Regions from separate parts of the Homo sapiens genome. Here all the other regions are linked to region 1. The links are contacts of gene promoters, found by promoter capture Hi-C in blood cells and fetal thymus (Javierre and others, 2016). All regions are on one chromosome and are shown on one strand. The core of a region is centred on a gene start or on the middle of the fragment in contact, and the rest is flanking DNA. Distances in the headings are between cores, read along the strand shown. Region 1 holds the start of FNDC3B (fibronectin type III domain containing 3B). Region 2 overlaps PLD1 (phospholipase D1). Region 3 overlaps FNDC3B (fibronectin type III domain containing 3B). Region 4 overlaps PLD1 (phospholipase D1).

Region 1 (2,700 bases), core at 194-2,693:
TACAAAGGGACACAGGTACCTTCTGGAGCCATGAGTGATCAGCTGGGCTGAAGGCATGGCACCTGAGGAAGCCAAAGAGTCTGGAGCCAGAGAAGGCATTTGGACTCAAATGGGATCTATTGGATTGTACCCTATTGGCACTAAGGAACTACTGCCTACCCCCCGCCCCGGCTTCTCATGCAGGACTATGACCTAGAATTGGAGTTATGTTATAGAAAGATGGCTTCAAGTTCCCCTTTGAGGAGCTCCACAGTAAATAAGCCATTTAGGAGAGAGGTCCCCATTTCTCTGGACTCACCATTGCCTCCAAAAAAAAAAAAAAAAGGCTAAAATCTCCCCAAAAGAATGGCAAATGAACAAGGGAAGGAAGGAGCTATTTCTTAGTGTTCTTTAGACTTTAACAGAGTATTATGTACTGCTATTATTATTTTTTAGGTTAACAAAAGTAATACATTGTCTCTAGTGACTCCCTGAATGCTCCTTTGTAGCTTAATAGTTGAGGCTGAATGTAGCTATTCAGAATACCTGGACAGCTATGGATGGAAGGGGCTTCTCTAGGCTAACTTTTGCTCTCTTGTCTCCTGAATAATCTGAGGGGTGGCATGGGATGCAGTCTGTTAACCTCTTAGAGCCTGTACAACAGAAATACATTACATTTGACTTAATATGAACTCAACAGTTATTTAATGAGTCCTATTGTGGTCCTTGCACTGTGCTATATTTTACGGATATAAAGATAAAAGTAAGAAACAGTCTTTGTCCCTGAGAAACGCATTGTGAAATAAGGCTGGGTGAGTTGGCTCACGCCTGTAATCTCAACACTTTGGGAGGCCAAGGCGGGAGAATCACTTGAGCGACAGAGTTCCAGACCAGCCTGGGCAACCTATTGAGACCCCCTCTCTTCCAAAAAAGGAAAAAAAAAAAAAAAAAAAAAGGGTGCGGTGGCTCATGCCTGCCCCGTGCCTGCAGTCCCCAAAACAAACAACAACAACAACAAAAAACAAAAAACAAAAAGAAAGAGGAAAGAGAGATTTTAACTTAAGTATAATAAAAATTGCTCATACTATGTTAGTTGTATGAATAAAATGCTGTGGGAAATGTGGGAGTAATATAGCTCACAAGGTTGCTGTGGGGGTTAACAACAACAAAAAGCGAAATATATGTGTAAATGAAAAAAAGTCAGTTTTAGGCTTAATTATCACTGAGTAAACATTGCCTTTATATTACTTTGGCGATCTGCAGAACGCGCAGCCCTCGCCATTCAGGAGTTGTTAGTTCCCTAAGCCTCAGGTTTCTTTAGTCTGGCTGAACCAAAAGGAGTTTCTGCTTAGCTAGGCAGGGCCGGGGGACAACAGCTTCTGCGAGTCTGCGATTGTGGCGGCCGGTATATTCGGCGGTTTACGGTAATGGGCGGGCCCCAAATCCCCATGTGGTCCCGACATCATTGACATGGCGGAATCCCCCATCAAACCCTCCTGGTAGTTATTTGAGCGGCGGCGGCGGCGGCTGGAGGAGGAGAGCGGCGGCGGCGGGAGCAGCGAAGGGGGCGGCAGGGATCCTCCAGGCTGCCGGCTGGGAAGGCGTGGGCGACCCGGTGTGTGGCGCGCCCAGAGCCCCGCGTTTCAGCCCTAGGGAAGGTAAGGCGTGCAAGAGCCGGGGACTAGAGGAGACCGGGACCCCGAGCGCGATCGCCGGGTCCCGGTGCACTGGAAAGCCCCGGCCTGACGCCGAGTCCGCCAAAGTGCGTCCCTGTCCCGGGAGCGCCCTGGGCTTCCCGGCAAAAACTTGGCGCCGGAGTGCTGGGGCGCCCCGTGCTCGCCTGGGCACCCCGGGAACACGGGACCCGGGAGGGGGCGGCCCCCGCCTTGCTGGGCTGGGGTCCCCCGCCTGTGCCCCCTGCCTCAGGGTTTGGAGGAGTGAAAGAAACGGGTAGATTCCTCTTAAAAAAAATTGGGCAGTGGCTCGCGGCCTCCCCCCACCCCCAGCCTTCCCAGCAGATTTTGTCCGAGGAATCCGCTCCCCCTCCCGGAATCTCCGCGGCAGGAACGCTGCCCAGGAGGGGGAGGGCGGGCGGCGAGGCCGAGGAATCTTCGACGTGTCACTTTCTGAGGCTGTAGATTTCCATATGGTGGAGGGAAGAGGGCGGGAGTGCGAAGTGGGGCTGGAAGTTGGGGCCGCCTCTCCGCGCCGGCGGGGGCGGTCGGGGGCCTCGAACCCGGGGATGCTCGCGGGGAGGGTCCCGAGCCCGCGCCGGCCTGGCCCCCCCGTCCCCGGCTGGGCCTCTCCGGGACACTCCCCGCCCCGCTGCTGGCCACCTCCGAGCACGCCACGTCCTCCTCCCCGTCCTGCCCCCCGGGCTCCCCCCGGGCTGGGGGCGGTAACCGGCGGCCGCGGCCGGACTTGGCGAGCCGGCGGCTGGAAGCTCGGGCGGGGGAGCGGGGCGCGGCGGGAAGGAGCGGGCGACCCGGTGTGTGGGCCAGCGGAGCTCCGGTCAGTCGGTCACCCCGAGGGGCGCCTCGGCCGGGGATAGGGCGGGCGGGCGGAATCTGCGCCCCGAGGCGGCCAGGAGGGGCCGCGCGGACCGTCTGGTGCCCGCGGCTGGGCTGGGGCCGGCAGGCGTGGGAAGGGCCTGTCACTCTCGGCAGAAAGTGGGGCCTCGGGCTGTGCCCGCGAACTTTCCCAGAGGTCCGGGTCCCGGCG
Region 2 (2,789 bases), core at 195-2,694, 300 kb before region 1:
AATTCAATAGTGTAAAGATTAATACTTGGTACCTACAGTGATACATAAAAATGTTTGATATTTTAGATAACAACAAAAATTCCAAAAGCTTTCAGTGAACAATATTTAACTAGTAACAGAGAAGTATACTTAAGTCCAGCCTACTTATTTTGTGTAAGTACTTAAGTAAATTTGTTTCAAAAGCAGCCAATTGCAGAAATAATATTCTCTAAATGTTCACTTGATGAATTACATAAGACAAACTTTCAATCACACGAGACGATTCCTACAAACGCTGTTCCTCCAACATATGTGCGTGTATGCATCCACGCACACACACACCTGAAATGAAGAACTAGGTGGAGGAGACAATGAGAAAGGCCCTAATTAGCCTTCAGGGGTCCAGTCCACAAATATAAGCCGTGCACCAGGCAATTGGCAGGGGTGAGACGTATTGTATACTAACAGCACCATCTTGGCTGTTTTTGTTCTTCAGAAATGGCACGACATGCCTTCTCTCCTTCTCTTGTGAAACACATTCCAAGGTCCAGCCTTGTCTATACCACCCACCCACCCTAAGGAACCACCAGTGTTAAGGAGGGGTGGGTGGAAAAAGTGACTGCAGTAATGAGTATACAGTGTATACTTGTATAATATAATACATATGTATTATTATTACTAAATCTTTGTAATAAACCTATAATGTAAGCACTGTTATACCCTTTATTCAGAAGAGGAAACAGGAACAGAGAGGTTAAGTCACTCATTCAAGATCACAAGGCAAAGATGAATTAAACCATGCAGTCTGCCTCTAGAGTCTGTCATTTACCCCCACATGTTATTATCTTTCAATCTAAATGCTGGCAGGTGAAATAAGAAAACAAAGCTCATCTTAGAGACATTTCTGAGGGAGTTGTGCTCAGTGGTGTATCAGGGAGACATGGACCCGAGTCACAGGGAAAGCCTAAACCAGAGGCTGACACCAAAATGAGTGTAAGCTGGGAGTCAGTACATGTGCAGGTAGGCTGGGACACAGCACCAGGCAAAACCACCCAGAAAGCAATGCAGCGCATGCCACCTCCAAAAGACAAGGAGGAAGGGAAGGCAAAGCATGCCCTGACAGCTGGTTATTAATCTGTGCTTCCCCTGAGGCAGGAGGCAGTGGTGGCCTTACTCTGCCATGGCTAGATCTTAGCCTGAAGGGACAAAGGTCACCACCCTGCAGCAATTGTCCTCCCCCGGAGACTTAACAACTGCAAAATCCAGCCAGGAACAGAGAAAAGTAGCTACCCTAACAGCTTCTTCTAGTCCAATCCATTTCAAAGGGCATAACTTTGATTGTTGAAGACATTTTACTCCAAAGCCTTTTCAGCGTTCAGTGAAATATCACGTGAATGAGGACTAAAGGATGGTTTTCTAGGAACCAATCAGAGAGGCAGAGTATGGCTGCAGAATTCTCTCAACAGTATTTTGAGGTAATGGCACTGGCCGATCCAGTATCCCGGCTTTTTTTCTTAAGAGCCAGGTAGCACCAACATTTTCATGCTAAATAAACATTAGGAAAGCTAAAATTCTTGTTGACTTATACCTGCCATGCAAGGTGGAATAAATATGCATCAAGAGTCCAAATGAAACAGAAAACTGGGGAGAGAAGAAGATTAAGAGAGGCACTTTGCAATTTATTAAACTGTTAATTTGCCTTACATGCCTTTTTAAAAGAAAGAGCTTTGGCTCAAATGAAGAAAGAGGAATATAAGAATGAAGATTAAATGGGAAGGAGGCAAAAACTTGACAGGTGAAAATGACTTGGAAATGATAGATACATAAAAACAAACAAACAAAAACCTACAAACATGATCATAGCTAAGAGGGAGGAAAATGAAAGGCTATGTACTAATTCACATATATTGACAAAAGAAAAAAGGGTGAGTCCATAAACGCTCTGACCCTTGTTGTAGATGTGAAGCGTTCCACTTCCAGAACTTGTGCTTTTATTGGACAGCCGGAGAGATACGTCTGTATATTAGGCTCCTTAAATCCTTGAGTGTTATAAATAGCAGAGAAAGGGATATACACTAAAAAAAAAAGTAAATAAAGTTAATGCAATATATGATTAGCATAACTTGTCTTTTACAGGCATTCTTTTAAGAATCACGTGTTAAAACAAGTAAGCCTCTTATAAAATGATCTGAGCCCGGTGTTACATCTGCAAGGAAAATCAATCATTTGCTGGTTACTTCAAATTTGTGGTCTTCCGACCAACCGAGATAAACTCTTTTCTTCCCCGCTCAGATCATCCGTCTTTACCTTCTTGTATCTTGGGATCGCTGGGAGACACGTCGTAGTCTACCTCCTCTCCCTCAAAGTGGAGTTCCCGCGTGTCCAGATTTTCTATGATATTACTCATGTCAGCAGCAATTTTCTGCAGTGCAGAGGTATTTACCCGTGGCTCGTTTTTCAGTGACATGTTAACTTTGGACAGAGTAAAAGCAAAGGGGCTAGGAAAGAAGAAAACGGTTACAAAGACTTAGCATTTTGATAACATAAAATGCTATTCCACAATTTGAATCCAGACTTAGATACAGCATATGGAAACAATTCAGCCTGCTCTGTGTGAGCCTCAGTTATCCAAAACAACCTTTTAGTTTACGTTCCTGTTTAACATTTAAAGGATTCCTAACTTGTAAATTAAAACAGAGTGCTTAATTGAAAACAAGAGAAAAAAAAAAGAAAAAAAAAAGCAACACCACATTGAATGCCAACATTTCTCTCATCCAACTTTATTAACTTGGATAAGTAATTCAAGGGAG
Region 3 (2,723 bases), core at 109-2,608, 260 kb after region 1:
GCCACCACGCCCGGCTAATTTTTTGTATTTTTAGTAGAGACGGGGTTTCACCGTGTTAGCCAGGATGGTCTCGATCTCCTGACCTCGTGATCCGCCCTCCTTGGCCTCCCAAAGTGCTCGGATAACAGGCGTGAGCCACCGCGCCCGGCCTTTTTTTTCATAAGTTTTATATGTAATGGTCCCTTACTACAAAATACTTCAGGATATTTCCTATAAGAATTTTTTTAAAGAACCACAGTGTAATTATAACTTCATAAACTTACATTGATATGATACTTTTATCTGTTGTCTATATTCCAGCTTTTGTCGCTTGGTCTATAAATAATGCCTGTTATATTTTGAAAAATTGGGCAGTTTTCACCCCTTCCCGCGCAGGAGCTAGTCTAGGGTCATACAGTACCTTTAGTTGTCATGTCTCTTTAGCCTTCTTTAATTTGGAACAATTCCACAATATTTCTTATACTTTTATGACACTGATATTTTTGAAGAACACAAAGTAAGTCACATGCACACACACCTTTAACCTTTTTAAAAATTTTCAATAGAACATTCCTTATTTTGGTTGGTTACTTCCTCATGATTTAAGGTGAGGTTCAGTTGCAACTTTTGAGGACATAAATGGTTTTATTTTATTGAAGAGAGCTATTTGTTCGGTGCATTGGTAAGTGAGGAAGTGAGATTGTGATTTTTCTTAAGACAGTCCAGAGTTGAGATAATTGAGGTTCCTGCCAAGGTAAGTGTGGAAAGTGCCTTCTGTTAACAGCTGGTATGATCATTTTTATTCATTTGTTTGTTCATTCATTCATTTGCTTACTTAGTTACTTATATGTATTTACTCGTAAGAAGTGATAAGATCTTTTAGAATTTTATTAGTAAGTTAACCATGCCATTTTCGAGATCTAAGATGGCATCATTAAAAAGAACCTGATTTTCTAGTCCCAAACAAATAATAATATCAAATAAGAAAGTTTATTTCTGGTTTATGGTGGAATCTGACATAATAGTTCATGAATTATTGTCAGTACATTACTGGACACCCAAATTCCAAATCTCGTTTGCTTTTGAAACTGGAATTAGCAACTAATGAATGCTTTTTCTTTACAGTGGAGAAGAATTAGAATGTAACCTGAAAGATCTTAGACCAGCAACAGATTATCATGTGAGGTGAGTTAGGATATAAGAGCCAAACTGTATTGGAGAATCCAGGTGGCTAAAGCAAAAACATGTACTCCCTTTTAAGTTTTTGGTGAATGTTGCTTACCTTGCTGAAAGTTGTAGAACCATGGCTTATGGGCCATTCATTGACTCTCAAGAGCATCGTAACTGGGAAGACACAGAAGCGCTTCTGTGAACAGAAAAGTAGGTGTTAAACACTGAAAATCATTTTAAACATTTTAAAAGTAATTTTACATGGTCTTCTAAGATCTATTGGACTATGGTTTAACAGTTTCTTTCTGTAAAACAAATGAAACTTTTGTCACCATGGGCATATCATTGTTTCTTATAGACCATCATATAAACTGTTTATTCAGACCAAATGACTGAAGAAGCCCTTTCCATGTTGCAAGCACACCGTTAGACCTTAAAAGCTGGTAGATTTTGAAAAAGACAAGTAATACAAGCATCAAATTATCTCTGATGAGAATTAACTCAATTTGGCTAAACAGTTAACCCATGTGGCATAGTATGTAGCCTGAAATCTCTCCTGTGATTTTCTGGAATCTCTACTGTGACTACTCTGGAAGGTAGGGCTAGCTTATTTTAGGAAGAAACCCAGCCAACCACAGATCTGTAAGGAGGAAAGTGTTATCTGAATTTTTTAGAGAGACCATCTGATTATTTAAAGATACATCCATCTATTTATTTGCCAATAAGAAGGTCTGAATATGACCCATAACACTAAAAAAACTTTTTTTTAATCTTTATTTTATCTAATATTTAAGTTCCCCAGAAAATATAGTTTTATTTAACTGGATGTACAACAACACATTGTTTCCCTTTTTTTTTTCAATTATATATGCATACATAAAGATTGCAGAATAAAATTGTAAGCATGAAATATACATCTATTACTATACTTTCCAAAGGTTAATTTACATCATGAGTTTCTTTGTGATTTCGGGATGAGGTTGGAGGCAAGGTAGCCTAGTAGGAAGAGCGTATATGAATTACCAGGAGGCTTGAGTGTGAGTCTGGTTCTGCCCTGAACGGGCTGTTTTAACTTTGGTCAATTCACATAGAACGCTCTGCCATGATTTTCTCAGTTAAAAAAAAGGTAGTAAAGCAAGGATGTGCGTTGAGGATGTAATATCTTATTAGCTGCATAAGTTCTTAAAAATAAGTTTAAAGTAATGTATATCAGAGTAAGTTGTTTTGTTTTAAGGCATAAAGTGCACATCTGCTCAGCTATCATATTGTTTAGATGAGCTCTCTTGCAACCATCTCCTCCTGTTTAAATCAAAACTTTGGATTTTGAGTCAATTAGCTTCCGCCCAAACGTATTGAGCTTTTCACACACTCTGTACAAGAAGATCTGTGTAATTTGTGAAGCTAAGATGATAATAGAAATGGTTTAACCATTATTCAAAATGGTCAATTTAACAACAAACCAGAAAATGTAAAACCAGAAAATGTAAAAGTCATGTAAATGTTATCTATTATTCATTGTTAACATATGTTTCTTTCTGCTCCGTGCTTTAACAGTTTATTGTTCCTGTGGTTAG
Region 4 (2,927 bases), core at 424-2,923, 270 kb before region 1:
AAAGAAAGAAAGAGAAAAAGAAAAAGAAAAAGAAAGAAAGCTGCCTAGAGCTAGGGGAGGAAAAGAGAGAGGTAGGGAGGATGGGTACAAAGTCTCCTTTTGGAGTGATGAAAATGTTTAAAAAATGGACTATAGTTATGGTCACACAACTCTGTAGATATTCAAAAAACCAATGAATTGTATACTTTAAAGGGCTTAACTTGATGATCTGTAAATTATACAATATCAATAAAGCTGTTAAAAAACGATTTCCAGAGCTCAGTATCAAGTGTTCTCTAGTCACTCCATGAGGCTGCCGTCTTCCAGAACAAACATAGTAACCAGATGTGTGTAAAGTAAGCTTGTACCCAAGAACAAAATGTTCCAACAACAATGATGAGAGTAATGAGCATGCTGGTGAAGTTGGTAGGTCTTCCTAGGAAGCAGTTATCAGCCTACCGCCTCTTTTTCAAACATCATTAGGTAAGTTCTGAATGGTGTTAGCTTTGAGTTTTTACCAACCTAGGAGAAATGGAAATAAAATTTCATTCATCATTACTAAAGTGTGTGAAAACGAGCAGAATATTATAAAGAGCAGCAGAGGGGGAATCAAAGGACCCCAAAAGCTTCCATTCGAATCTACTACGACCTTGTAGACTTGAGGACTCAATCATTTTGGGCTTCAGTGACTTGATCTGTAAAATGAGGAAGGGGAAGTATGAAGTCAGCTACTCTAAGGTTTTCTTCTGTCTTCAGCATTCCAGTCAAATCGTCCCTTCTAAGGATTGTCTTGGTATGCTGACTTGTCCCTTTCATCACATCATCAACTGCGTTTAGACCAAAGAATTGTTATCCAGACATCTGGACATATTGAAAATCTCTCAAAGAATCTTTCCTGGACTGATGTTTCAGGTATTTACATGAACTTCCTCCGTATCCTTTATTAAATACACTATCTACCTTATAGTTTAATTAGCTATAAAAACCTAACTGAAATTTTAAGCTTGACACAGAAAAGTCAAAAAGGTGTTTCCTAACATGATGTATAAGGGCAGCAATATAATTGTTCTCCAAAGTAAAATGATTCTGTCCTTTATAAAAATTCATTTTACCTCAACTCTAACCTGTCACTTCTAATCAATTTTAATTTTTATTATAAAAATGATAAATTCTCATCTAAGAAAACCTTAAATATATACAAATTTGAGGAAATTAAAATCAGTTTTAGAGCCAATACCTTAAATAGATTAAGAGTAATGTTAGTCTACTATTTCTACTATTATATGTTGGTATAGTCTCACTTTTTTCTCCATGAATAGTTTTTCCCTTTTTTAAAATGAATATAAAGTAATCATGTTTAAAATACCAATATGTAGAAAAGTATAAGAAGAAAATATAAATCATCAGAAATCCCACCTTCAAAATAACCCCTAAATCCCTATTAACTTAAGGTGATCATCCGTTCTATTGTCTCTGTAAGCATAACACACACATAGAGAGGTATATTTTAAACACATTCAGATGTGTGATGGAGAGATAGTTTAATATCCATTATTTTTACTTAAATATCTATCATCACCATTTCCTCCTATTACAATTTTCCATAAATAAAATTGTGATGGTCCGTCATGCAATTTTCTTCTGCTACTTTATGTTTTTATTATTTGCAACTTTTCATGGTAATAAATAATGCTTCAATTAACATTTTTATACTTAAAGCGTCTACACTCCTACCTAGAAAATTTAAATCTATTGACTTTTTCCTTTTGTGATTTCCTCTATTGATTTTGGGAAGAGAAAGTGCTTACCCATTCAAAGATCAGAATTTTTATTTTTTCGTTTCTTTTCTTTCTTTTAAGTTAGCTCCTTAATCTGTCTGGGTTATCTTGTTCTATATTGTTAAAGGTTCTAAACTTATTTGTAACACGTTTAAATTTTAGCCAAATTGGGTAGAAGTTATTTGCCCAATATTTTTCAAATGCACATTTATGTCTTTTAAAAAAATATATGTCTCATAATCTTGGTTATCCACTAAACTTAAGGAAACCTTCAAGACTGCCAAATAACCAGAGCTTTGATTACTAGCAGGAAGTCATACTGGGCAGAAATAAAGAGGACACTCCTACTGGCCAAATTAAAACTAAACAATCAGAAAAGTCCAAGTTCCTAGCTTTAGTGGCTTTATTATTTTAGCCTTAAAAAGTCTCTAAAATCCCAAAAGTAGCTTAAGTGTTTAAAAGACAGTATTCAATGCAGTGGGCTATTCTCCATACGGCCTGGCCACTACTGGTCTCATTTACGGGCCATGGGCAACCTCTATATCCTGCCATTGGTCACCAGGTTCTTGCCACTGGTCACGAGCAGAGTAGGTGAGAAAGTGGAGCACAAGCTTACCAACCCAAGTAGAGAAAGGACACCAATGGCTTGCCTTGCTGGTTGACAGTAAGTCAACAGAGCATCTTCTAAATGAAGAGCAGCACAGATGTCAGTATCTACATGGTTGTTTCTCAATAATAAGTACTGGGTTATATTGGACATAATACAATCCAAAATGTATTAGGTTGTATTTTTTTCTTATATTTTTCTAATATTGGATTCTATTTTCAGTTCTTCCCCCTCCACAGCACCTTCTGATGCACAACACTGTCATAGCTGCCTACTAGTTGCTCTGACTTAGGTCAATCTAACTTTCTTGAATAGTTTCCTCAACTGTAAAATGGAGATAATAAAGAAAATCAACAACTTAAGGTTGTTGTGAGGATTAAGGAAAAGGCTTAGAACAGGCCGGGCATGTTTACAAGGCTCATGCCTATAATCCCAGCATTTTGTTTACATGGCTCATGCCTGTAATCCCAGCATTTTGGGAAGCCAAGGTGGGAGGCTGACTTAAGACCAAGAGTTTGAGGTTGCAGTGAGCAGTGATCGTGCCACTGCACTCCAGCCTGGGC

The links. Contacts are between HindIII fragments. The CHiCAGO score rates a contact against its expected background, and 5 or more counts as called.
Region 2: a contact is called between a fragment that was not itself captured here and the fragment with the promoter of FNDC3B in region 1, in 1 of 17 cell types (neutrophils). The highest score is 5.3, in neutrophils.
Region 3: a contact is called between a fragment that was not itself captured here and the fragment with the promoter of FNDC3B in region 1, in 14 of 17 cell types (neutrophils, M2 macrophages, M1 macrophages and 11 more). The highest score is 18.1, in neutrophils.
Region 4: a fragment that was not itself captured here is called in contact with the fragment with the promoter of FNDC3B in region 1 in 1 of 17 cell types (neutrophils); the score reaches 8.8 in neutrophils.

The regions. Positions count from the first base shown.
Region 1 is chr3:172,038,135-172,040,834 of GRCh38, forward strand. It overlaps FNDC3B (fibronectin type III domain containing 3B), which reads left to right and starts at 1,444. Exons shown (of 26, transcript NM_022763.4): 1 at 1,444-1,637. RefSeq lists enhancers at 1,264-1,931, 1,932-2,598 and silencers at 1,517-1,696, 1,837-1,936, 2,117-2,366, 2,427-2,700. The HindIII fragment of the contact is 7,479 bases long and covers 1-2,700 here.
Region 2 is chr3:171,735,606-171,738,394 of GRCh38, forward strand. PLD1 (phospholipase D1) reads right to left here. Exons shown (of 27, transcript NM_002662.5): 2 at 2,287-2,477; 3 at 1,927-2,054; 4 at 1-32. The coding sequence starts at 2,446. Among named protein-coding and RNA genes, the nearest start is that of PLD1, 73 kb to the right of the region's middle. The HindIII fragment of the contact is 2,716 bases long and covers 87-2,789 here.
Region 3 is chr3:172,297,624-172,300,346 of GRCh38, forward strand. It overlaps FNDC3B (fibronectin type III domain containing 3B), which reads left to right. Exons shown (of 26, transcript NM_022763.4): 9 at 1,105-1,164. Among named protein-coding and RNA genes, the nearest start is that of GHSR, 150 kb to the right of the region's middle. The HindIII fragment of the contact is 4,891 bases long and covers 1-2,723 here.
Region 4 is chr3:171,764,995-171,767,921 of GRCh38, forward strand. The region is part of intron 1 of PLD1 (phospholipase D1); the gene reads right to left. Among named protein-coding and RNA genes, the nearest start is that of PLD1, 44 kb to the right of the region's middle. The HindIII fragment of the contact is 1,386 bases long and covers 981-2,366 here.